Regions from separate parts of the Homo sapiens genome. Here all the other regions are linked to region 3. The links are contacts of gene promoters, found by promoter capture Hi-C in human tissues and cell types (Jung and others, 2019). All regions are on one chromosome and are shown on one strand. The core of a region is centred on a gene start or on the middle of the fragment in contact, and the rest is flanking DNA. Distances in the headings are between cores, read along the strand shown.

Region 1 (5,960 bases), core at 977-3,476, 1.3 Mb before region 3:
GTACCTGTTAATGGCTCATTAGTTATAAAAATAAATTATAGGTACTCTGCCACCCTGTTTGTAGTTTCTTTAGTTTTTGATTTCGCTAACCCCAGGAAAATGGATGTGTGGCAATAATACAGGAATGTGAATCAAATTGCTCTGTAATTTTATATATTTAATAAAGTATACAGCAGGGCCGTGTGCACATGGGGTTAAGCTGTGGTGGAGGAAAGTGCTCTGTGAGAAAACTGAAGTCCTCATACACCATGTTGGCTGCCTATGTTTCATTTCACGACATAGTGCTCAGCAAATAGGGCTGATTGGTTTTCAGTCCGGTTTTGTGTGGTTTTAGGTTCATAATGGTTCCTTTTCATATATGGCCTTTGAAACTTGCTTGACACTGCAGTCATCTCTCATAGATAAAATAGGTCACAGTGAGTTTTAAATTCTTTTTTTTTTTTTTTGAAATAAAAATGTTATTCAGGCCGGGTGTGGTGGCTCACGCCTGTGATCCCAGCACTTTGGGAGGCCAAGGCGGGTGGATCACAAGGTCAGGAGTTCAAGACCAGCCTAGCCAAGATGGCGAAACCCCATCTCTACTAAAAAATACAAAAATCAGCCAAGCATGGTGGCAGGTGCCTGTAATCCCAGCTACTCGGGAGACTGAGGCAGAGAATTGCTTGAACCCAGGAGGCAGAGGTTGCAGCGAGCCAAGATCGCGCCACCGTACTCCACCCTGAGAGACAGAGCGAGACTCCATCTCAAAAAAAAAAAAAAAAGAAAAAGAAAAAGAAAAAGAAAAATGTTTTTAAAATAAAATTGCAGGTGGTATCCCAATCTGCAAGGATAAAAGCAGAATGACTCTTTTTGGGAGGAGGGAGAAGAATCTCAGAACCTTGGCCACACAGTTCACACAGAGACGTCACCCTGACCCGTAGGACTCCGCAGAACTCAGTGTGAAAAACACCAAAATAGAAGATGAAATCATTTTTATGCTTAAGTACTAAATATTTCCACTCAATTTTTAGACTTGTTCAGCCACAAATGTAGACAGAAACATTGTGTACCTTCCTGGGCACTGAACTTTAGATCAGGAGTTGGCAAACTTTTTCCACAGAGGGCTAGATAGTGTATGCTTTCGACTGTGGGGCCATATGGTCTCTGTCACCACTACTCAGCTCTGCTGCCGTGGCACAAAAGCAGCCAGGGACATTATGGAAATCGCATGAGCGTGGCTGTGTTCCAGTAAAGCTCTGTGCATGCCAAAATTTGGATTCCATATAATTTTCACATATGATGAAATATTGTTTTGATTTTTTCTGATTTTAGCAAAAAGATACTCTCGGCTCTTTTTCTTCTTTGAGTTTTAGTTATTATAAAGGTAATACCATGAAAGAACATTTCAAAAGGATGAGAAACTCATCTTTAATTCCATAATCCATGTTCTTTTCTTCATACGTCACTGTATCTTATAATAATTGTAATTATAGTTGACCCACAGTTCTGTACTTTTGCTTTTACTTACTTAATTTTTTATACGTAAATCATAGTTTATGTAGTGTAGGTGTAAAATTCTGAAAATAAATTATGTTTACTTTTCTTTAATGTTACTTATTTAATTGCATCTACTCCCAGTGTTCTTCTACCCAATCCGAATTTCTAATCTTTTTAAAAGCAATCTAATAATTGTTTCTTAAAAAAACAAAATTATTATTCAATTTGGTGAATTTGTATTTGTTGGTATTCTGGAATATAAATCTCTGAAAAAGGGACACCCCATTGCAAGTAGATATGAGGATGGCAGTCATTTTCTTCCTCCAACCCTTAACACTGTCTTGGAGAGTTCCCATGTTCCGGTTGAATATTTTGGTACTGAAAAATGTCTTCAGGAAAGCAACAATTGTTTTCCTAGAAAAAAAACCTGAGAACTCATTTCTCTCTTTAGGTTGCCTGACATTTGTAGCTGAGTGAAACCATGGTGAGCATTGATTTATTTTACTATAAAATTATCAGTTTTACTCACTCAAACAATCCTTTTATATTAAAAATATTTTAAAAATAAAAGCAGGGTATTGTTTTGCTTTACTAAATGGAGTCACCTCTTTTTCTCTTACTTTTGACAATTTGGTTGTCAAATTGTGTGAATTGTGAAAAAATAGCCCTGAGTACAGAGAATTTTTACCTCAGGGATATCAAAAAAGTCATGTTAGTAATAAAATAAGCCATTGATTGTGTTAAAACTCAAGGTGGGTCATTTAATTGCAGTTATTAAAAAGTTCTTTCATTATTTACCTCTGGGAGAGACTGTAGGTAGGACTGTAAGATTATTAATGAAAATGCGTGTAGATTGGTTTAAATGATTCAGCTTCATCTCACCAAGGAGTTAGCATGTTCATTCATTTTACAAAAGTGTATTGAGCACCTCGCCTACTATGTCTTGAGTAATTTGTTAGACATACAAAGTTGACTAAAACATGGACTCTGACCCCAAGGCTAAAATGTTATTTCACATGTGCACAGTGCTTTACAGATTACAAATGACATCATTACATCCTCATAAGAATCTCATGAAGCAGATGTTGGTTCCATTTCATTCATGATGAAACTAAAACATAGAAAACATAATAGTCTCCCCAAGGCTGCCTGTAGCACAGTTCCTTAGATTCCCAATCAGGTGACCTTTCCAAACTGTAGAGATGGCTCTATAATAGTTTAAAAAGGAGAGATAAGAAATGTCCACCATAGGTAAATACAAAATAGACAGTAATACGTACAATCACAGAAGTTCAGCTAAAGTGGTACAGGAGTCCAGAAGACGGAGAGATGGCTTCTGGGTAGGGGATGGATAAAGGGCATAAGGACTAGGGATAGGGATGGATGGACTGTGCACTTTCAGGGCAGGGGAAGATCATTCCATCCAGAGCCGGAAAAGCTTCAGAAAAGCTTAAGCCAGGTGGGATATGGCATGGGAAGAATGGAAATAGGAACAGTCAGTGGTTCAATTTACCTTGAAGATAGAATATATCACATGGAATTATTAGAGATGAGGACAAAAAGATGGAAAAGAAACACATCTTCCAGGTCTTTGATGCCAGGCCATAAAGCTTGAATTTTTTTTTGCTGGAAGTGGAGAGCCATCTGAGGCTTCTAAGCAGAAGTGTGCTAATCTGGCAGCAGTTTTGAACAAGGGAGTTGCAAACTCACATACCTGTAAAGGCCATGAAGATAATAGAGAAGTGATGTGGAGAGGATACAGCAAAAAGAGAAGTATTCTCCAGGGGACCATCCACCATTCAATGCTTTGGGAATGCAATCTCTCATTCTGCTGCAGATTTACAGTTCTCCTCTGCATATGTGCTTTATTAAGTTACATCTTTATACGATGTGTTCCCATTGACATAGATTTGTAACTTTTATGTGGTTATGTTTTAAATCTTACAGAAAAAAGGAGTTAATAGTCAAATATACTTTAATACTGACTTTTATATGTACTTATGTAGTGTACTTATAATATGTACTTAACAGTGTTCTTTATTTCTTCGTGCATATTGAATTATTGTCTAGTATTTTTTCATTTCAACCTGAAGGATTTTTTGTAGGGCAGGTTTACTAGTGACAAACCCTCTTGAGTTTTTGTCTATCTTGGAATGCCTTAATTTCTTCTTCAATTTTGAAGGATAGTTTGCTGAATATAAAATTCTTAATGGACAGTTTGTTTTCTTTCAGCACTTTGCATGTCATCCTATTGCCTTCTGGCCTCCGTGGCTTCTGATGAGAAATTAACTGTTAATCTTACTGTGTATACCTTGTGACAAGGCTGTTTTCTCTTGCTGCTTCCAGGATTCTCTTTTTGTATTTCGACAGTTACATTATAATGTATCTTGTTTTGGACTTGTGTGAATTTATCATGCTTGGAGTTTGTTGAGTTTGTTGAATGTGTAGATTCATGCTTGGCCATTATTGCTTCAAATATTCTTTTGCCCTTTTTCTCTCTCCTCTCTTTGTGGAACATCACGTTGGTGTGCTTGATGGTGTTCCACAGGCCTCTTTGGTTCTGTTTATTTTTCTTCATGTTTTAATTTTTGTTCTTCAGATTGGGTAATCTCGATTGACCTATCTTCAAGTTTGCTGATTCTTTCTTCTGTCTCTTTAAATCTGCTATTGAACACTGAAGTTTGCTTATGGTACTTTTCAACTCCAGAATTTCTTTATGGTTTCTTTTTATAATTTCTGCGTGTTTATTGATATTCTCTATTTTGTGAGACATCATTCTCATGATTTCCTTTAGTTGCTTGTATATTTTTTTCTTAAAGCATTTCAACATATTTAAAATAGTCAATTTAAAATCTTTGCCTAGTAAGTTCAATAGCTTCCTCAGAGACAGTTTCTATTCATATCTTTTCTTTTTTTCCTGTGCGTGGGTCATACTTTCTTGCATGCCTTGTAATTTTTTTTTTGAAACTGGGTTTTGAATATTGTAATGTGATAACTCGGGTAGTCAGATTCTTTCTGATTCTCAGGACTTGTTGCACCTGCTTATTGTGGTTGCTGTTTCTTTGTTTAGTGACTTTTAGAAACTAATTTTGTTAAGTTCTGCCTTCTTTGTCATGTATGTCCATGGAAGCTTATGTTTGGTTAGCTTAGCAATTTGACAAAGATTCCCTCAAACATCTGGAACAAAAACAGAAAAAAGAATCAGAGAGCCAGTGTGCTGTGTGTATTAGGTTATGCCTTCAACCCTCAGCCATACAATTCCCAACTCTGCCTTAGCCTTCACTTCCTGCTTGTGCAGAGCCTGAAAGTCAGGCAGAAGTGAGAGCTCAGTGCCATCTCAGGTCTATTCTGAGCATATGCCCTACCTTTAGCATGTATATGGGCTTCTAGAATCCCAGGATTACATGGGAACTTTTCAAAGTCCTTATATGGAAAAGTATGTAACTCCCTAGCCTTTCCTTTTAGGTTTTTTTGCTATCTGTTGTTTGCCCCAATTTGTATTTCTTTGCCCCAGGTGTCAGCAACTAAGTCATGTGTTTTTAATGAGTGACAAATGTTTATTGGGTAGTCACTTCACCACCCAGGGAAAGTTCTGAATTAGCAAAAATAATTCAGAACATATTGCCTTTTCTATCAGTCCTTCAGAGCCACCAGACAGGTTAAAAGAAACACAATTATTGGAAAGCAAGATCTGCTCTCCTTCCAGCACTAGGAACCATCACCAAGAAAGTGGGTTGCTGTCTTCAAGACCACAATCGAACTGGATAGGAGGATCCTGGGGCCAGGGTAGGTTAAAATGCCATAAATCTCCCCTACTGAAATTCAGCTGCCTTTTTCTTATGTGTTCACCTGGCCGCTGTAAACCTGTGACCAGTTCCAGAGTTCAGATTAAGTTGATTTTGACAGTTTTTGTCCATTTATTAGCTGTTTCTGTACAGGAACAGGCCCTTGGAATTCCCTATTCCACGATTTTCGCTGATGTCACTTTGTGCACATGTGCCTTACAAATAGTGTGTATATAAAAGAAAACATGTGTGAGCTAAGTGCAGGATGCTACCTTATTACCTTTGGTATAAAGAGAACTAGAGAGGAGAGAGGTTGAAGGAGAAGAAATGAGTAGGAAATGGAGGGATATTGACTGGCCCAGCTTCAGGCACCAAAACATAATACAGTCTTCCTAGAAAGTTATGCAGTTCAGGTATCTGTTCTATTAGGGGACAGCGTGTGGTTGCCTGTAACAGAAAATTGTTTCATACTGGCCCACACAAATAGGAATTTATTTGACTCACATAACAGGAAACCTGGGGATGAACAGGTAAGAGCCAGAGTAGTGGCCTAATGATGCTGTCAAGAACTCAGGTGCTGTTGATCATTCTCTTTCACTGTCATTAGAATATTGGCTTCTATATTCTCAGTTGTTGCCTCTTGATCTCAAGATGGTTGCTGTAGCTCCAGATAGCACCTCTGCATTCAAGGCACATAAT
Region 2 (6,137 bases), core at 3,554-6,053, 1.1 Mb before region 3:
CTCTGTGTGTCCCGTATCCCAAGTCAGGGTTACCCTCCTAGGAAGGGAGGAGCCCTGTCTATGGAGCAGGCGGGTCCAGTTCCTTTCTTTTTTGCATGTAAAACTCTCAAAACCAAGGCTGGCTCTTCACAGGTCCCTCCCTCAGTCTGTTGTCTGTTTTCCCAGGCCTTTATGGAGCTGTCGTTGGTTCACAGATGCCAAGCAGTTACATGGTTAATCCTCCCTCCGCCAACCCCCCCTTCAGCACCACGCCCTCCTTCCTAATGGGCCTGAACTTGCCATTGTCCAAACATGAGTGACTGAACTGAAAACTCAACTTTCTGATTTAACACACAGAGTGGTTTGTTTTTTTTTTTTAAGGAAATGTATTAGATTTTGGCTGGGTTTTAGTTTGTCATTATACCTGCGTGTAATGTTCTTCTGTTTCTTTTTTTTTCTTTTCTTTTCTTTTTTTTTTTTTGAGACAAAGTCTTGCTCTGTCGCCCAGGCTGGAGTGCAGTGGCGCAATCTCAGCTCACTGCAAGCTCTACCTCCCGGGTTCACGCCATTCTCCTGCCTCAGCCTCCTGAGTAGCTGGGACTACAGGTGTCCGCCACCTTGCCTGGCTAATTTTTTGTATTTTTTTAGTAGAGACAGGGTTTCACTGTGGTCTCGATCTCCTGACCTCGTGATCCACCCACATCAGCCTCCCAAAGTGCTGGGATTACAGGCGTGAGCCACTGCGCCCAGCCTGTTCTGTTAATATTGCTTCTCACTCCCATAACTTTGGTTCAAAATACCATGTTCAAAAATACCTTAGTTATGCATATTTTGGATTCTAATATTTCAAATAGACATGGACAATTCATTTGAGATAAGTTGGGAATTTTCTCTTGGCCAGTTAAGATATTGAGGAGAAAATAACTTGATATAAAAAGTACTTTTCTGGATTTTTCTTTCCTTTTTTTTAATTTAAAGAAGGATGACTTGGGATGTACTTGAAGCTTCTTGAGAGTTTGAGAATATCTTAAGATAGATCCTGGTTTTCTCATAGTCTGGTACTTGTATCTTTCACTACTTCCTGTCTTAATGTTATTCTACGTGGGAATAAATGCCAACATGGCGTCAAGCAATGAGCTGAGTTTAACACAAAATGTTAGAGGTAACCTCCTTGTTCTTTATCAAAAGATAAGAGAAGAAGAGAGATCCAGAATTTAAAATTTTCCCCTTTTCCTCCATTGGAACAGCAGCTCTTCTCTGAAAACACCTCAATACCAAAGATTCTTCTTAATCACACACATCTTTTAATTAATGTGATTTTATTCTAAAGAAAGCAAATGTCTTTGACTTTCAGTTCAATTTCTAAAAGGGGAAACCATGTACTTGGTCCCTCTGTGGGGCTCTTTGCCATTTTAATCTTTTATTTTCTCCCAAATTATGAATGTTCCTCAGTGAGTCTTGATAATAATTTCTAAATTAGCCTTGTCTGAACTTGTGTTTGATAATCTTAGGTATTTAATTATAAGTGTCATAGATTCCTAGCATTTCCAGTCCAGGTGTCAGATTAAAAAAGACAGTTTGACATCCTCATTGTGCAGGTCATTTTCATCATTTTCCATGCCAGGAGCAAGGTAATTAATATTGCTCTCTCACTGCAGGGACAGAGTAGTAAGTTTCTAAATGTTACACTTTACCTATATGGATAGTGATGCACATTCTGCTTGCAATTTCTAATGCGATGCCCGAAAGAATGCTATAGATGGAAAGCCATACCGTGGAAGACAACGGGCCAATTCTCACAAGCAGCAGGGTAGCTAATGTCTGCTGCATTGTTTATTTTACACAATTTTTGAAAAGTGAACAGAAACCATGATTTTAAATTTAATTAAGAAAGATTATGTTGGGGGGAGGCAAATCAGATAATCACATGCACAAAGGGTTTAAAGGAGAATTGTTTGGACCTAAAGTCCTATTTTGTTGTTGATTTTCATCTTCCGACAAATTGCTTCCCAAGGCTCTGAGTTGATTTAAAGTCAACAGGAGTTCTGAATGGGGTATGAAAATAAACAAGAATGGGGAAAAATGGGAGATTTCTGGATACTGATTCTGAAGATATTTCACAGTTAACATTTTTCACTGCTTCCCATATATTTAGCCCTTTCCAGGGGATCAAAATGCTCATACCCCATCCCATTTTCCAGTTAGAATTTCACCTGAGAATTTAAATGCACGATCAGTAGCTTGCTTGGTGAGCAAAGATTTCAGCACAAGAAGTGACTCCCTGCTGACAGTGGCCTGTGAGCCTCTCCTGGCTGGATTTGTGTCTGTCAATCCCTTGTCTCTCTGCATGGGTTGTGCCCCATCAATCTTGCCAATCCCTGATTATTTGGCCTTACCTCTTTTCTGAGTTCTGGACTCATTGAGCAAGTCATACACATAAAAATATTTACTGAGCACCTGCTTGCCACAGGCCTTGGTCGACAATCTTTCTCCAGTCAAGGCATTGTACAAGTGATACCTGTTCCTTTGTTAAATCACATCCAAGTCCCTGTCTTCCTGAGATTGCCCCATATTGATTTTAATTGGATTACAGACATTTTCAAAGTCATCTTAGTTTGTTGAGAGACAGCTTACATGGCATGTACATACCCTTGAAACTGGAAAAAATAAATCACATTTCTCTTTTGGAGATTTGCAAAGGAAGACAAAGCCCAATGAACACTGGTAGAACAGAAAACAGTTTCCAAAATCCTTAACTGTTATTGCCCCTTTCTCTTTTCATGGAATTGTATAATTACTATCATTTTATGTTATAGAAAAGTTTCTAGTCTATCACATTTCATACTGTAGAAAAACATCATTGAATGGTGCACTTTGATGGAATTTGAAATAACTAGTTGTTAGTTTTCTGATCAATGACATTTAGAATTGTTTACTATGTGCTAAGAGAAATCAATGGTCAGCTTTGAAATATCCCAAATCAACGTTCTTAAATAGAGAAATACATGGCGCCTGAATGTTTCAAACTTGCACTAGGGGCCAACAGCCTCAGAAGCATCTTAGACACCTCCCCCAACCATCATCAAAAAAAAAAAAAAAAAAAAAGGCATGTATTGCAATTCTCAGATAACCAGTTTGCTTTAGATACATGCAAGCTGCCTTTGGTGCCTGCCACAGCTGCAGGTCTTTCTTGGGAGTTCCATGCGGTGGAGGAAAGGCAGATCCTGTAGGCCATCGGTGGCTAAACAGAGGCATAAGGCAGAGTTGGCGATTCAGCCACAGCCCTGGAATGACAGTGTCCCCATATGGCAAATCCCTCGCATAGAAGGCCATGGGAAATCCCAACCAGGGACCCATGATGGCAGCTCTAGAACTGCGTTGCTCTCTGACCTCTCTGCTAGGGCCAAGACTGGCCAAGCTGCTACCTACTGTGCCCTGGTCTGTGCAGGTCCCCTATACATTCCCACCCGAAACTTCCAACACTGAGCTAAGCTGAGCTTGCTGTGCTCCCCTCAGTGTGAAAAAGCTTATCTCCCACCACGTGTCAGGAGCTTCGGGGAACCAGGGCTGTGTGGGGATGGCTCTGCCTGTGCCGAGCCCCGTGCCTGTCACTGAGACATTTGAGGGTCCGTTTCTTGCCGATGAGGCAGTTTTTTAAAAGGCTCTCCATCTGGGGACGACTCATCCTGTGTGAGGCAGGTGCTTAAGCACTTGACGTGCTTGTGAATTTCAATAGTTGCAGCAGCCCCAGGGGGTGGGAGGCGTTATTGGCATTTCACAGGTGAGGAAACCGAGGCACAGAGAGCTCCGTGACTTGCCCAGGGTCACTCGCGAGTGAGTGGCTGAGGCAGATTCTGCATTCTAATCTGATTAAATCCAGAGCCCACATTTTTAAGCACACTGCTCTGCAGCTCCGGGGTCTTTTATCACTTTGTTTATCGTGAGTATTGATACAGGAGACTCCTAAAGTGATCCATGGATTGAGGCTGTCAAACATGAACCCAGAACACGTTGTGTTTTCAATAGGGTGTCATTCTTTATACACAAAGACAACAGACTCTTAATTCTGCCAGTGCCGCACACTGTGAGCTTTTTAAAAAAACAGCAACAACAAAAAACAGCAGTGGGATAATTCTGCTTATTCCTCTGTGTTCTGAATGGGTCACCCTTGTCTTACACCCAACAGCTCATATTTTGCAATGCCTGGTATTTAAAGAGTAGCTTCATTAAATAAAAATGTGAAGTGCGTGGCCTAAGGGGTTTAGGAAGAGTAGAAAAGGAAAATAAAGCTGGGCACTGTGGCTCACACCTGTAATCCCAGCACTTTGGGAGGCTGAGGTGGGCGGATCACCTGAGGTCAGGAGTTCAAGACCAGCCTGGCCGACATGGTGAAACCCTGTCTCTACTAAAGATACAAAAAATTTAGCTGGATGTGGTGGTGGGCGCCTGTAGTCCCAGTTACTTGGGAGGCTGAGGCATGAGAATCGCTTGAACCCAGGAGGCGGAGGTTGCAGTGAGCTGAGACCATACCTACTGCACTCCAGCCTGGGCAACAAGAACAAAACTCCGTCTCAAAAAAAAAAAAAGAAGAAGAAAAGGAAAGGAAAATTTCTCACGCATCCAGTGCATATATTTTCTATTCCAAACAGTAAGTGTAATTCATCAATTTATGGGTGGGAGAATGGTTTGATAAAGATGGACAGCGAGTCACTGAGTCGCCCGTGACGATGTGGTCTGTGCTTCTGTGTGTATGCTGTGATGTATTCATTCATAGCAGCCCTCACATCCAGTTCCCATGGGGTGCTGGGTTCTCAGGAAATGCATGTGAGGATGGAAGACACGGGACTAGAATGCACATGACTTTCAGGGGAAAATTGTTAGTTTTACAGTAGATGGAGAAGGAAATTTGCTTTTCATTTGACATCTTACTTTTCTTCTTTTCTTTTTTAAACTAAATCATTATAATCTTATTACAAGGGTAATATGTCTTCAATTTAGATAAGTTGAAAAAATATAGAAAGCCCCAAACTTATACAGAAATACAAATCTTGATTTTATTCTTGGTCCCTTTATCTGAAGGTTACGTAAGTCATTTTCAGAAAGACAGAATGCTCGAGTCTAAATCTCGCCCTCTCAACACTCACCTCCCTCGAGGAAGCTGAAGTCTCGGTCTCCGTCCGCGCCCCCACACACTGCCTTGCCAAGGGGCAGCAGAGCTTGCGTGGAGCCCCCTCCTCTCTCCTTTGGCAGGGTCTCTTGGTTTCAAGTATTGCCTCTTGACTCCAAAATCTGGATTTTCAATCCTGACCTTCCATGTAATTAATCTTCGGCTGAAAATTTCATGCTCATCCCTACTTTTCACTCCCCTTTAGATCACACTAATGCAGATCTTGTTACCAAATGCCAACACTGTTAGAACATCTCTTAATTCGTCTCCCTGACTCTAGTGCCTCTCCTTCTAATCCGTTCTTCATACTGGGACTAGTTTAATTGTTTTAAATCCCCTCATGTTCTCTGATGCCTATAGGGTAGTGTGCTAACATTTTAACCTGGAAATAAAAATGCTCTGCTGTCTTGCCTTTATTTACCTGTTCAGTTTCTCTTTCCGATTATAGTCCTGATACGGCAGAAGCATTTAGTATTTACTGAATATCCACGTGCTCCCCTGCATTTCCTGGCCTCCCTTACTGGCAGACTGGGCTAGGATGACTGAGTTCTGACTAAAGGGATTTGGGTAGAAGTAAGGTTTGTCACTTCTAGGCCTGGACATAAAAGCTCCTACATGGCTTTTCAGTCCTCTCTTCACATTTCATGGTGTCTTCGGAGGTCATGTGCACTTTCTAAGCACATTCAGAAAGTGCAGCTATAAATAGTGAAGCCTCCATCAGCCTGGGTCCCTGAATGACCTTGCGGAGTATACAAACCCCTGTTGACCCATGGTGGATGTGTAATGAGTAAGAAATAATTTTGTTTTTGTATTAAGCCTTTGAGATTTTATGCTTAATTTGTTACTATAGCATAGTCTGTGCTATCCTGGCAGACCCCACAGGAATGCATCTTAAGTACCTCGGAATTGAGCCATAGGCCTAATCTATTACTTCTGACTAAGAAGAGAGAGTTGAGACCTAGTCCCAGAACTTCAGTTCTAGAATGACCAA
Region 3 (6,718 bases), core at 2,278-4,777:
CTTTCCACCCTGCTCTCATTTCTACATGGCCCTGTTCCCACCAGCATCTAAGATCCCATCCACGATTGAAAGTAGAGTTTCTTCTCATCTCCTAGATGCCTTGTCCATTCTCCTGCTGGAAGAAAGCCACTAAGTACTGGGTTGGGCGGGTGGACACATGTTCTGCCGAGCGCCATTCTCTCCCCTGCCTGTGTAAGTGATACCAGGATCTTGTGACCACAGGCAGCTCATGCTCCCGAGGGCATGTAAGGCCTCTCTTTTCTGAGAAAGTCCGTGGAAGCAGAGGACAGTGTATGAGTTTCCATGGAAAACCTCTTGTCAAGGATTCCAGCTATGACTCCTTCTATAGAACAGGATAACTGGAGAGTAGCCAAGGAGAAATATATCTCCCATTTAGAAAATATCCAAAACTCTGATTGGTAAAATTAAGTGTAACAAAGATGATACTACTTCCTGAATTCATATATTAATTAATATTTAATTTAGTTTAAATGTCTATTTAAAATCTTCTGGTGATGTTTAAACAATTGAACAACTTGATAGTAAAAATAAATCCAGACACATAAGCAGATAAAACTTTATTTTTTAAGTGATTGTAGAATCATATATCAGCCTATTTTTAAAAAATGAAGATCAAATAAATATGTCATAGTGTGGATATTTCATAAATTAAAGCTATTATGAGAACTTAATATATGACAAACTAGACTTAGTAATATAAGACAAATAATGGAGAGAAGAAAATATCTACTTAAGAATTAGTATTGGGATACCCAAGCATGATATGGAGAAAAGTGAAATTAGACCCATACCTCCATACAATATAAAACGTAGTGTTAGACATTTTAAAAATAGCTACTCAAAGTAGAAGAAAAAAACTGATATATGTACTAGAGTAAATAGACTGCTATATCTATAAAAGAGATACATTTACATCAGAACATGAAATAGATCATCATCATACCATAGATCTGTTCATAACACTAATAGAATGATATAATAAATATCAAAAGGAAAACAACAAAATGAAAAACATTCAACACATATTTATTGTCCCAAATATATAAAGAATTGTTGTTAATATAAATACTCTGCTTTCACTCCAGCAGTAGTCAAGGAAGATTAAAAGTTTATACAAAAGGGAAACCTTGTCAAACTGTCAAATTAAATTGAATCATATGGAATATATACAGCTTCATAGTAATTAAGTAAATACAAACTAAAACTCATAAATAACTCACAAATAACCAACTCTCTATTTTTTTAAAGCCAGTGTTGGAGAAGAGTGTGAGAGAAAGCCCATCTATATAACTGGTGGGTTGGTATTTCTGAAGAGCAATTTGTCAATATGTAGCAAAAGCTACAAAACTTTAAAAATCTTAAATCTATCCATTCCATTTGGGAAATATATGAGAAGAAAAAACTTAGAGGAGAAAATGAAGTTTGTGTAAGTTTCAATGTAGCAGTATTAGTTTTCCTTCCTTCCTTCCTTCCTTCCTTCCTTCCTTCCTTTCTTTCTTTCTTTCTTTCTTTTTTTTTTTTTGAGTCAGAGTCTTTCTCTGTTGCCCAGGCTGAAGTGCAGTGGAGTGATCTCAGATCACCATGACCTCTGCCTCTCGGGGGTCTCGTGCCTGAGCCTCCTGAGCTGCTGGGATTCCAGGCATGAGCCATCACGCCAGGCTAATTTTTGTATTTTTAGTAGAGATGGGGTTTTGCCATGTTGGCCAGGCTGGTCTCGAACTCCTGACCTAGGTAATCTGCCAGCCTCAGCCTCCCAAAGGTATGAGCCACCACACCCGGCCTATTTTTCATCATAAAAATAAGACACAATTCTAATGCACAATTAAAAGGAAAATGGAGGTATAAAAGCAAGTGCTCTATATTACAGGATGGGATACAGTACACTATTATAATTAAAAAGGTTTACTGTGTGGATTATGCTGATCCATGGAAATCAGTAAGTGAAGTTTTGATAAAGTGGAGCAAGTGACGAATACACTGAACTGTAAGGTCTTTGGAGATGGGCCACGTCTACTTATATTCAATCCACAGGGCTACACCTAGTTCTTGGTACACAGTACATGCTCAGCAAGAGTCTGTTGAATGAACACATACATGGTTTATCTGTTTGTCTCTTCCGAGTTCTTGACTTCTGTCTGCTCTGACCTCTGGCAGCTTTCCACTAGTTTCTAGCTTTCATTCTGCTTACCTGGATTTCGGAACTCTAGCCTGCCCCACTCTTAGATAAACGCATGCCCTCTGTGGCCCTGGAACCTTAGTGACTTCTGCTATACCAAAGTCTCCACGCCCAGGGTGACACGCAGCTGCAGCTCCGTAAACCTCTAACATGATGTCAGCAAATATTAAAAAAAAAAAGTTTATAAAACAATGAATAAACTTTGTTAAAGGTACAAATGAAAATTAGCAAACATGGGAAGATAATTGAGTGAAGAGTTTAAAGTTAAAAACGAATTGCAGTCATTCTAGGGGAAGGAACAGTTGTATTTGAAAACCTGTATGGTTACATGAACTGCCTAAAAAACAAGCTAAGGAAAATTAAAGCTCAGATTTATATATTTTAAGAAATTAATTGCAATTAATTTCCTGGGATTAAATAGCATTTCCTCAACCCCAGCTGTCATTAAAAAGAGGCAAATACAGCCAAGGACTGGATCTCCGGAAGGCTGACAGCACTGACCCTCAAGAAGGCACCGGCTGACAGACAGAACATTCTGCCCTAATATGTGCTGAAATTCCGCTGAGAGCAGAGTGGTACATTGAACCCTTTAGGGGCTTACAAAAGAAGTGTCCTGTGTTTTAGAGTCACAGAGTTTTGCAGAAACAAGTATGAATTCACCTAGTGGCCCCCTGCACCAGGTCTTTCCTGTGGGCACTGAGTGCCAGACACATCAATATGTAATAGCAGAATGAATGACTGAACGAACGATTGAATGAAAAGAAATGAGAGGCAGCAGGTTGTCAGATTCTATGAGGCAATCACAGCATCAGGTGACCTTAGTATCTATTTGAGAGGACTGCCATTTATTCTCGGGAGCGCACGGCTCTAAAGAGGCCCATATCCAGGCAGTGAGCTCTGGTGGGGGGCGCCTTTAGATGCAAGAAGGAGGAAACAGCTCGAAATCCCTGGGCCTGAGCGCGGCCCGTGCAGGCCGGAGGGTCAAGAACTCTCCACCGGCGGCAGCGGCCCGGTGTCTGCCCCGGCTTCGCCCCGGCCTAAGGCTGCCTGTGCTATAAATACGCGGCCCACATGCCGCGGTGACACGGTGTTCCCTGGGCTCGGCGGGACAGATAACATGAATGTGCCCTTTAAACGTCCCAAGTTGCAGGGACAGCCCCCGGCCCAGCCTCGCTCCCGGAAGCGCCTTCGCCCCCGATGCCCTCTGCAGCTGGGAGGAGGGGGCGCCCCGCACCTGCCCAGCCAATGCGCGGCGCGAGCGCCGGCCGCGACCCGCCTCCTCTCGCGAGAGCCCGGCGGGGATATAAGGGGGAGCTGCGGGCCAGGCGGCGGCCCCCTAGCGTCGCGCAGGGTCGGGGACTGCGCGGCGGTGCCAGGCCGGGCGTGGGCGAGAGCACGAACGGGCTGCCTGCGGGCTGAGAGCGTCGAGCTGTCACCATGGGTGATCACGCTTGGAGCTTCCTAAAGGACTTCCTGGCCGGGGGCGTCGCCGCTGCCGTCTCCAAGACCGCGGTCGCCCCCATCGAGAGGGTCAAACTGCTGCTGCAGGTGAGGACCGCGCGGTGCAAGAGGCGGGCGCGGGCGCGGCGGGCCGGGCGGGGCGCGCGATGCGGCGCGAGCTGCAGGGCGCGGGGCGCCGCGGAAAATCTGCGCCAGGCCACAGGCCCGGGCGCCCGCCCGCCCGCCCGCCCGCCCGCGGGGGAAGAAGGTGCCCTCTGCGTAGAGACAGGTCCAGCGTCAGTCGCAGATTCCTGGTGTCGGGTGGCGCCCGGCGTTCGGGTGTCTATATATGGAAACCCACCCGGAGCCGGTTTACGTGTGCCAGATCCTGCGCCCGTGACAGCACGGGCGTGCACTCAGGCCCGGAGGCACCTAGTGATTGCCAGTATTTTTGGCACCGTCTTATGCGCACGCACCTTTACAATAAAAACATCAAAATAATCATCACCCAAGAATTCCCTTATCGTATCTCATGCACAATGCTGTATGTAGGCTGACGCCTTCATCTTTATGTAACCTCTGTGAGAGAGTTATTCTTCTCCATTTTACAGATGAAGCTGAGGTTTTGAAATATTAAGAAACAATTTTCGGAATAAACTCAGATCATCCTGTCTCCAAATCTTTTCCTCCCCTACCTGGTCGCTGAATGGTTTATCATCCTCTCGTGTTTTCCTCCACCTGCCCAAAAGGTCAGGGCCCCTCAATGAGGAAGAGCCCAATTTGGGAGTCAGAATTACTAACAACAAAACCCCCACAAATTGCTCACAACGGCAGCAAACCCTTAATAATTGATTACTTGGATTATCTGCTTGAAAACTTTGGAGGCCTAATGTTTAGTGGATTTATTCTCCTTCCTCTATTAGAGCATCTAGTAGAGATCCTCATCTCCAGGGTGATCAGAGTGACACTGAGAAATTGTCATTTTTTGGCCATCATGTCTATTAAATCCAAAGCCCTTTGAAGCAGGGAGTGTTACTCATTTCTGTCCCCCAGTAAGCCCCTCATACAGTTCTCAAACCTAGGGAAAGTGAAATAAATAAATGGCTATAGCTTTATATAATTCAATCACCTTTTCAGTTTATTTGGGGCAATACCTTTTCCCTCAAATACCCTAATAATTGAAGCAACATTGGATTATTTTGGCTTGTTATCCAGTAACTAACATGGATAACAGTATCCATTTACACGTCCTCAGTATCCATTTGATTTCCTCATCCTTTTTTTCTTCAAAAAAAAAATCTAGGAAGTGCAAACCTTTTTTTTTCTCCTGTCCTCTTCCCTTCTCTCTACCCTGCCTGTCCTCTGTCACCCACCCTCCCCTCCACCAGGTCCAGCATGCCAGCAAACAGATCAGTGCTGAGAAGCAGTACAAAGGGATCATTGATTGTGTGGTGAGAATCCCTAAGGAGCAGGGCTTCCTCTCCTTCTGGAGGGGTAACCTGGCCAACGTGATCCGTTACTTCCCCACCCAAGCTCTCAACTTCGCCTTCAAGGACAAGTACAAGCAGCTCTTCTTAGGGGGTGTGGATCGGCATAAGCAGTTCTGGCGCTACTTTGCTGGTAACCTGGCGTCCGGTGGGGCCGCTGGGGCCACCTCCCTTTGCTTTGTCTACCCGCTGGACTTTGCTAGGACCAGGTTGGCTGCTGATGTGGGCAAGGGCGCCGCCCAGCGTGAGTTCCATGGTCTGGGCGACTGTATCATCAAGATCTTCAAGTCTGATGGCCTGAGGGGGCTCTACCAGGGTTTCAACGTCTCTGTCCAAGGCATCATTATCTATAGAGCTGCCTACTTCGGAGTCTATGATACTGCCAAGGGTGAGAGAGGGGCATCGGGGAGAAGGAGGGTGGTGTGGAAAGAGGATCCTATGGGATCTATAACTCACAAAGGACCTGATATATATTGATCTTGTTTTTTCTAGTCTCTGGGATAATTGAGGCTTCTGAATGAGGAGGTGATGTGCATAAGTTAATAGCTGAAGCGTTCCTTGTGTCCTCTACTGAAATAAACTCTGGCCTTTAGTTATTCAGAGAGGAGGAGGGGGGAGCCTGTCTCCCTCTAGACACAGCCATAGCAGTTACTGAGTTTAACTTGAAGCCACTTCCAATGCCCTGTATACAAGCTGAGCACTGCCCCTCCGGGGTCCGGAGAGGGCAGCAGCCACCTTTGCTGTCTGCCTGGTCATATGTGAAGCACCTGCACAGGGGCAGGTTCCCCGCAAGGTCAGAGCATGGAGCTGGAGGTGCAGTGGCCTCTCTCCCTCCACCTGCTTTCTGCTGAGAACAGGCACTTCATAGCCGTTCGGCTTCTGGGCTCTGTCCACAGGGATGCTGCCTGACCCCAAGAACGTGCACATTTTTGTGAGCTGGATGATTGCCCAGAGTGTGACGGCAGTCGCAGGGCTGGTGTCCTACCCCTTTGACACTGTTCGTCGTAGAATGATGATGCAGTCCGGCCGGAAAGGGGGTAAGCTTGTGCTCTACTCATCTAAACTTGTTTGGTTTTGCCCGAGGAGAACATTTTACAGGGCTCCTTTCAGTCTTCCTTACTGGAAATTAATTTTCAAAATTATTTGATAAGGACTTAGGGAAGAAAGATGGTATTAATTCCCCCTAACGTTCTCAACTATCCTATTAGGGAAAAGTATTTTCCATTTTATTAGAGATGATAAGAACATGAATAGTAAGACATTTAGATGTGAATTTAACTAGGTATCCAGCATTATAGAGACCCTAGGCCCTCTTCCCTTAGAGCCTGGGTGCAAAAGCTAGGGAAAAGAAGTAGTTAGCTACTTCTTACAAAGAACTCTTGCTTCCCTCCTAGTTACAGGTGTTAGTGGGATGGGGTGTTTAGCTGGGTAGAGATGGCCTGAAGCAATCTGTTGTGCCAGAGAAAGTTTTGGCTTCTATAGGTTGAACCATACGAAATTGCCACTTTAAAAGTCAAAAACAGTCCAATGTTAGCAGTTTCGTATGTTTCAACGAATAGTTACAGCCTTTTATTTAGACTGCATAACCTCGTGC
Region 4 (6,506 bases), core at 3,091-5,590, 1.0 Mb after region 3:
CTCCCACTGCACATGGGAATCCGCTTCTGTCCGCAGCTGTGCAGCTGTGATTCTCAGGGGAGCCGGCAGGGCAGGTGCACCGAGGGGGTCTGAAAGGGACTCAGCTCAGCACTGCTAGGAGGACCTTTCACGCACGCAGCTCCCTTACTTAGGGGCAGCTGCCTCCTTCCTCTCCCTTACGCCCACTCACCACCATCCCTCAAGCCCGCCTTCCTTGGTAGAAGGCTGAGCACCACTGCTTTACTCTGTCCAAATTCTAGGATTCTTTTAGTACAACGTTTAATGGAATTACCAGGGAAATTCGTATAACTTCCATTAATACTCAGGCCTCACCCTAATAACCACACTTCTTAGGATAACTAAGGATTTTTTTTTCCAGTTCATTGATTTAAGGAGATTAATGGCCTTTTCTACAAAAGTAATTTTCTTTTCTGTGGTATCACCAGAAGAAAAAAAAATCTTGTATTTTGCAGGTGTGCTTAGGTGTGTCAGGCACAGCTCTGTGAGGAGCTGCCTGTGTTTGCAGACATACAGATGTGGACGTGTCTGTGTGTCTACGCTGATGTCTGTGGCAGTATGAACACGTCCATCTATACCTCTATCTATGCAAATTCTTGAGTCTCATAACTTCCGTGGCAGAAGTTTTCTCTATTTAACAGTAAAAGAATCCGAGGCTCAGAATGAGATGGCATTTCTCAGAAAGGTAACAGCTAGAGCACAGGTGTGTCTGACTGCAAAGCCACCATCTTTTTACCAAGTGATGCACCCTCCTACATAGTGGGTGACAGTAAATGTATAAGTAGCGTTGATCCAGAAGCCCGCAGTTCTGTAACTTGCAGTGTTGTAACCAAGTGTGCATTTCTGTTTAGGAATTTGACGAAGCCAGTTCACAGTCAGTGCAGCGGTTACTCTGGGAGGTGGAGGAAATGTTATTTGAAGGGAAAGTGAACCCTCAGACCCAGAGTCTGCTGGCCGAATGCGGGGAGTGGACAAGAAGATCCCTCCATTTGAGGTGGGACCTTGGTGGTGGAAGTTCTCTGGGGTGGGTTTTCCAAGCACCCACCCCTGACCTGCCTCGATACATTCAGTACATTTGGTGTGAAAGTGCCTGCCCAGTCAGAATATGGATGCAGAGCGCAGTCCTTCACTGAGAGATCACTTTCCTCTTACGGCGTCTGAGGAAATACTGAGACATTCCAGTACTCAAGCGCCTTTTAATTTGTGAGAAGCAAATTCAGGCCATCCTGAGAAGGGCATGACACATATACGAATGCAAGAATGGTGGAGGCCACCTCTTACCTTCACATTCACTGTGTGTGAGCAGCACATGTCTGTCTTCATCACAGAACACAGCGAGGGTGGGCAGAGATGATTTGCTGAACGGCTGGATAGATGGGTCTTCCCATCTCACCCATTCCTTATGTAGGGAGGAGCATGTGTTACTTTTCATATCAAAGATGGAGAATATGGATTGGGTATGAAGGCAAGCTTTTCTTTTCTTTTTGCTTTTTTTTTTTTTTTTTTTTTTTGAGATGGAGTCTTGCTCTGTCGCCCAGGCTGGAGTGCAGTGGCGCGATCTCAGCTCACTGCAATCTCAGCCTCCTTGGTTCACGCCATCCTCCTGCCTCAGCCTCCCGAGTAGCTGGGACTACAGGCACCTGCCACCACGCCCGGCTAATTTTTTTTATTTTTAGTAGAGACGGGGTTTCACCGTGTTAGCCAGGATGGTCTTGATCTCCTGAACTCGTGATCCGCCCGCCTCAGCCTCCCAAAGTGCTGGGATTACAGGCATGAGCCACCGCGCCCGGCCAAAGGCAAGCTTATCTTTCAGTCACTCAGCCAACGTACTGGGGGACAGTTTATCAAAGTTACCTGAGTTCCTGTGGATTCTGTCTGGGGAGAATGAATCAGAACACTCATGTAAATGTGGCTGGATTTCCTGGTTACATTCACTAGGTAACTTTTACAGAAATCTTGACCAACTAGGGTTGTTTTTTTTTTTCTTTTCAACCCTTAATAAGCCACCTGCCCTAAAGAGTATGATATGTCCACTAGATACTAGTTGTGGATACTCACTTTTCTGGGGATGATCACTCACCAGAAATTCGGGAGCTCACACTTATTCTTGTCACTGCTGTCTTACATCATTGATAGAAATGGAGGGAAGGTGGGAAAAGATTGTCAGGTACATAAGCCAAGTGTGCATATTTATATATTTGTATTCTTGTTATGTTTGTGTTTAACTGTGTATTAGTTAATATGTATGGAGGGCTTCTTTGTGCCCAGTGTTGCCTTAGACACCTGAGTCTGTCATATATGATCTCTAAGCCATTCATCAGCCCTGCAAGGTAACCATTATTATCCTGTTTTGCAAATGAAAGACAAACAAATGAAATTAGCCTGAGAACCTTGCCTGAGACTGAGTCAGTGGAAGAACAGTCTGGCCTAAACTCTCAAAGTCACACTTCTGTGATGCGTGATGCTTCCCACGTTCCCATACACATCTTATCATACACATGCCTTCAAAATCATTGTCTCCTACTTTTAAAATCTCCAAACATTTTCCCTTTGTCTGATCAAAAATGTCAGTAGCTTCTCTTTGACCTCGCAGAGTATTAGGAAGACAGCTGATCCTGCCCACTGACAAAGGCGTCCAGCATTTCCAGGGCAGCACTCCTGCCTCCGCAGTCCACAGACCCCCGCTCAGTGCCTGCGGACACAGCAGCAACATCAGAGAGTATGTTCAGATAAGTGACTCTCAAAAAGTATTGTTAGCTGTATTTTAGTTATACTTTTTCATGTTTATCTCATCTATAAGCCTTGGCTCCACCCATTTTGGAAATTTAGATTCTGATGAAGGGCAGGTACAGAGAACAATTTTTATAAGAAGCTTTTGATTCTGAATTGATGATAGGTGTATATGTGTGTATATAGAGAGATGTGTAATATATATATGGAACACACATGCACACACATGGTAGTTACCTTCCATGTTTGTTCCAAAGGCGCTGTGAAAGGTGGACTGGGTGCAGGATGGAAACCGCCTCACTGTGATGGATTATAAGCCTCCAGGCGGTGGCAGCAGGAGAAATGAAGCTCTGTCCTGTCGTTTCTGTTCACTAGCAGATTTTGATGACTCTATGCCATTCACACATATTTGGTGTGCCGTGACACAATGCAGTCCTTTCACTGCAACCAAAGAGGGTACAAACTCATAGAATAATTTAGGCTTTTAAGAAGCCCTTAAAATGTTTAATGATGCCTGTATTAAAGTGTTTTTAAGGACGTGAGTTTTGTCCAATGTAATATTCAACCGTTTTGGGAGGGGGGGATTCTGTACTTTACAGATAATTGAAAGATCCGCCATGATCGTTTAAGCATTGCGTTCTTGGTGTTCTATAAACTCCCATGTAGAATCTGTTTTTTTCCCATAGGTTGTGCATTTCTGGCTCTCAAATAGTCCCAGCAGCACTCTCAGCCTCTGCCCTGCCAGGCCCTGATGACACAGGGGTTGCTGACCTAACGGCACGTTCATCCCTGGAAGAAGAGGTTTACCATGTGGATGGAAAGATTGAGGAGTATTTCGCTTTTGACAGAAAAGAGGAGTAAATAGAATCTTATTTGACATTGACCTCATAAAATAATATTAATTTATTTGACATTTATTGTTATCGTATGCTCATTAAGTGTTTTGTGTATTTTTTACTCACCCAAAAGATTTCTGTTCTTTTGAGAGTAATGTACTCCCCAGAGCTTTTGGATTCCTAGCCAGCGGTGCACGTGCGGGAGCAGCGAAGAGGGTGTTCAGTGCCCTTGTAAAAGCAGACAAGGCTCCTCGCAGCCCTGGTCCTGGGGGCTCCAGGTTCCCCAGCCCTGGCTGCCCAAAAGGGCCTAAGGGGAGTTCCTGCCTCTGTACTAAATTCGTATTTTGTTCTTTTTTTTTTTTTGAGACGGAGTCTCGCTCTGTCGCCCAGGCTAGAGTGCAGCCGTGCGAGCTCGGCTGACTGCAAACTCCGCCTCCCGGGTTCACGCCATTCTCCTCCCTCAGCCTCCCGAGTAGCTGGAACTGCAGGCGCCCACCACCACGCCCGGATAATTTTTTGAATTTTTTTTTAGTAGAGACGGGGTTTCACCGTGTTAGCCAGGATGGTGTCGATCTCCTGACCTCGTGATCCTTCTGCCTCGGCCTCCCAAAGTGCTGGGATTACAGGCGTGAGCCACTGTGCCCAGCCTTGTATTTTGTTCTTAATCAAAAACTACAACTATTACATGATAAAACTTTGCCCCGTGATTGAAAATTGGCACATTAAAAAGTAACACTGATAAAACAAGTCTTAACACATTTGAGAAGACTGAAATCAAGCATCTTTTCTGATCTCAGTGGTACAAAACTGAAAGTCAATAACAGGAAGAAAACTAGAAAACTCACAAATATGTGTAAACTAAACAACCTGCTCCTCAACAACCAGGCAGTAGGTCAAAGAAGAAACCTAAAGGGAAATCAAAAAATATAATGAGACAAATTAAAATGGAAACACAACATATTAAAACCAAACTTATGGGGTACAGTAGAAGCAGCTCTAAAAGGGAAGCCTATGGCAATAAATGCCTACATTGAGAAAAAAGACATATCTGAAATAAACAACCTAACTTTATACTTGAAGGAATGAGAAAAAGAACAAACTAAGCCCAAACTTAGTAGAAGGAAGGAAATAACAAAGCTCAGAGCCGAAATAAATGAAGAGACTAGAAAAAAAAAGAAAGATCAATGAAACCAGGAGTTGGTTTCTTGTTTTTATTCATGTGTAATGGAAAAAAATTATATATGTTAAAAAAGAACGATGCTGTTTAACAAAGAATGTTTATTAATATATGTATACATGTACATACGTGAATGTGTGTAGATAGAATTATTTTAACTCTAAGCATTGATCTTTTAGTAATTGGAGTGGGTTTTTATTCTTAGTGATGATGAATGTCTTGAACAAAAACCAGCTCAGCCCGGTAGGAAATGGCGCAAACTCGGACTTCCTCCTGTTTCCCCGCGTGACTGTGTCAAAGATGCCGTGGCAGCAGAAGTGTTTGATCACGTCTGGACAAATATGGTAGAACTTTTGGAAGAGCTGATTAGAAAACACTGGGAAACTACACTCACAGGTACTTACATGCAGAATTTAGCTTAATGAAAAGAAAAAGTCCCTGTTCTTCGGCCCTGGGCTCCTGCTCCCCAGCTTGGCCAGACCTAGAACGTGACCAGTGAGAAGACAAGTGGGTGTTCTGACTTTACTCATGAGTGCTCTTTAGTCCCTTCAAAAAGGACGCTATTGTTTTTTGTGTTATAAAAAATAATGCAGGGCTGGCTGGGTGCGGTGGCTCACGCCTGTAATCCCAGCACTTTGGGAGGCCGAGGCAGGTAGATCACCTGAGGTCAGGAGTTCAAGACCAGCCTGGCCAACATGATGAAAGCCTACCTCTACTAAAAATACAAAAATTAGCCGGGCGTGGTGGTATGTGCCTGTAATCCCAGCTACTCGGGAGGCTGAGGCAGGAGAATTGCTTGAACCCAGGAGGTGGAGATTGAGATTGCAGTGAGCAGAGATCACACCACTGCACTCCAGCCTAGGCAACAAGAGTAAAACTCCATCTCAAAAAAAAAGAATGCAGGGCAGGCATGGTGACTCAGAACTTTGGGAGACCAAGGCAGGAGAATTACTTGAACCCAGAGGTTCAAGGCCAGCTCAGCTTGGGCAACATAGTAACACCCTGTCTTTTCAAAAAATACAAATAAAAAGTTAGCCAGGCATGGTGGCACATGCCTGTAGGCCCAGCTACTCAGGAGGCTGAGATGGGAGGACCCCTTGAGCTCAGGAATTCAGTATTGAAAGTGAGCACTCCATCCTGGGCAACAAAGCGAGACCATCTCTCCCCCAAAAATAGCAGTGCATATGCAGTCTGGAAAACACACAGATACACAAGAACAAGGCTAGAAGTCATGTTTTTTGTTATAGTAAAAATAATTTACCTAACTACTCTCTAATAATGAGATATTTGTTTTTCATTGTTCGTGACATTATCTGTAATGTAAAATGTAAACATTGCTAATTGAATCATGCTTTAATCCTCTTACATACAAAATATTCTCTAAACTTAACATTGAACAAAAACAAATCATAAAAATGTCAGTGATGGACATTAATGACCAGTTTTATTAATCAATTTGTACAATAAGGCAATAATCACGTTAACCTAAATCCTGTTCTTTTTCCAGTATTTAAGGAATTAGTTGGGCTTTATCATGTGCTGAGAATCTGTATTGCCCACTGTGTGATCTGCTTCTCCAAGCCCTGCAACCACAGTTCCAGCAGCCAGTTGCTCCACAGGGGTCTCTGCCCTCCGTGGTAACATGTGGAGTGGCCGTAGCATGGGCTCGTGGTAGCTCAAGCACACATATTCTCTTTCAAGAGTGAATTTTAAGTATTTGTATTAGATAATCTGATGTTTCTTGT

The links. The method cuts DNA at HindIII sites, captures the fragments that hold promoters and counts their contacts. A contact is called where the count stands out against the background at its distance.
Region 1: a fragment that was not itself captured here is called in contact with the fragment with the promoter of SLC25A4 in region 3 in 1 of the 25 tissues and cell types used here (aorta).
Region 2: a fragment that was not itself captured here is called in contact with the fragment with the promoter of SLC25A4 in region 3 in 1 of the 25 tissues and cell types used here (spleen).
Region 4: a contact is called between a fragment that was not itself captured here and the fragment with the promoter of SLC25A4 in region 3, in 1 of the 25 tissues and cell types used here (dorsolateral prefrontal cortex).

Annotation. Positions count from the first base shown.
Region 1 is chr4:183,842,403-183,848,362 of GRCh38, forward strand. It overlaps a transcript of STOX2 not described here. Among named protein-coding and RNA genes, the nearest start is that of STOX2, 60 kb to the right of the region's middle. The HindIII fragment of the contact is 3,239 bases long and covers 608-3,846 here.
Region 2 is chr4:184,053,445-184,059,581 of GRCh38, forward strand. The region is part of intron 1 of LOC107986330 (a long non-coding RNA gene); the gene reads left to right. Among named protein-coding and RNA genes, the nearest start is that of STOX2, 150 kb to the left of the region's middle. The HindIII fragment of the contact is 5,119 bases long and covers 2,245-6,137 here.
Region 3 is chr4:185,139,739-185,146,456 of GRCh38, forward strand. SLC25A4 (solute carrier family 25 member 4) reads left to right here and starts at 3,528. Exons shown (of 4, transcript NM_001151.4): 1 at 3,528-3,745; 2 at 5,026-5,512; 3 at 6,021-6,161. The coding sequence starts at 3,635. RefSeq lists a silencer at 3,300-3,599. The HindIII fragment of the contact is 7,904 bases long and covers 1-6,718 here.
Region 4 is chr4:186,151,034-186,157,539 of GRCh38, forward strand. It overlaps FAM149A (family with sequence similarity 149 member A), which reads left to right. Exons shown (of 14, transcript NM_001395294.1): 4 at 870-1,012; 5 at 2,612-2,737; 6 at 3,435-3,605; 7 at 4,967-5,157. Among named protein-coding and RNA genes, the nearest start is that of FLJ38576, 37 kb to the right of the region's middle. The HindIII fragment of the contact is 5,374 bases long and covers 1,654-6,506 here.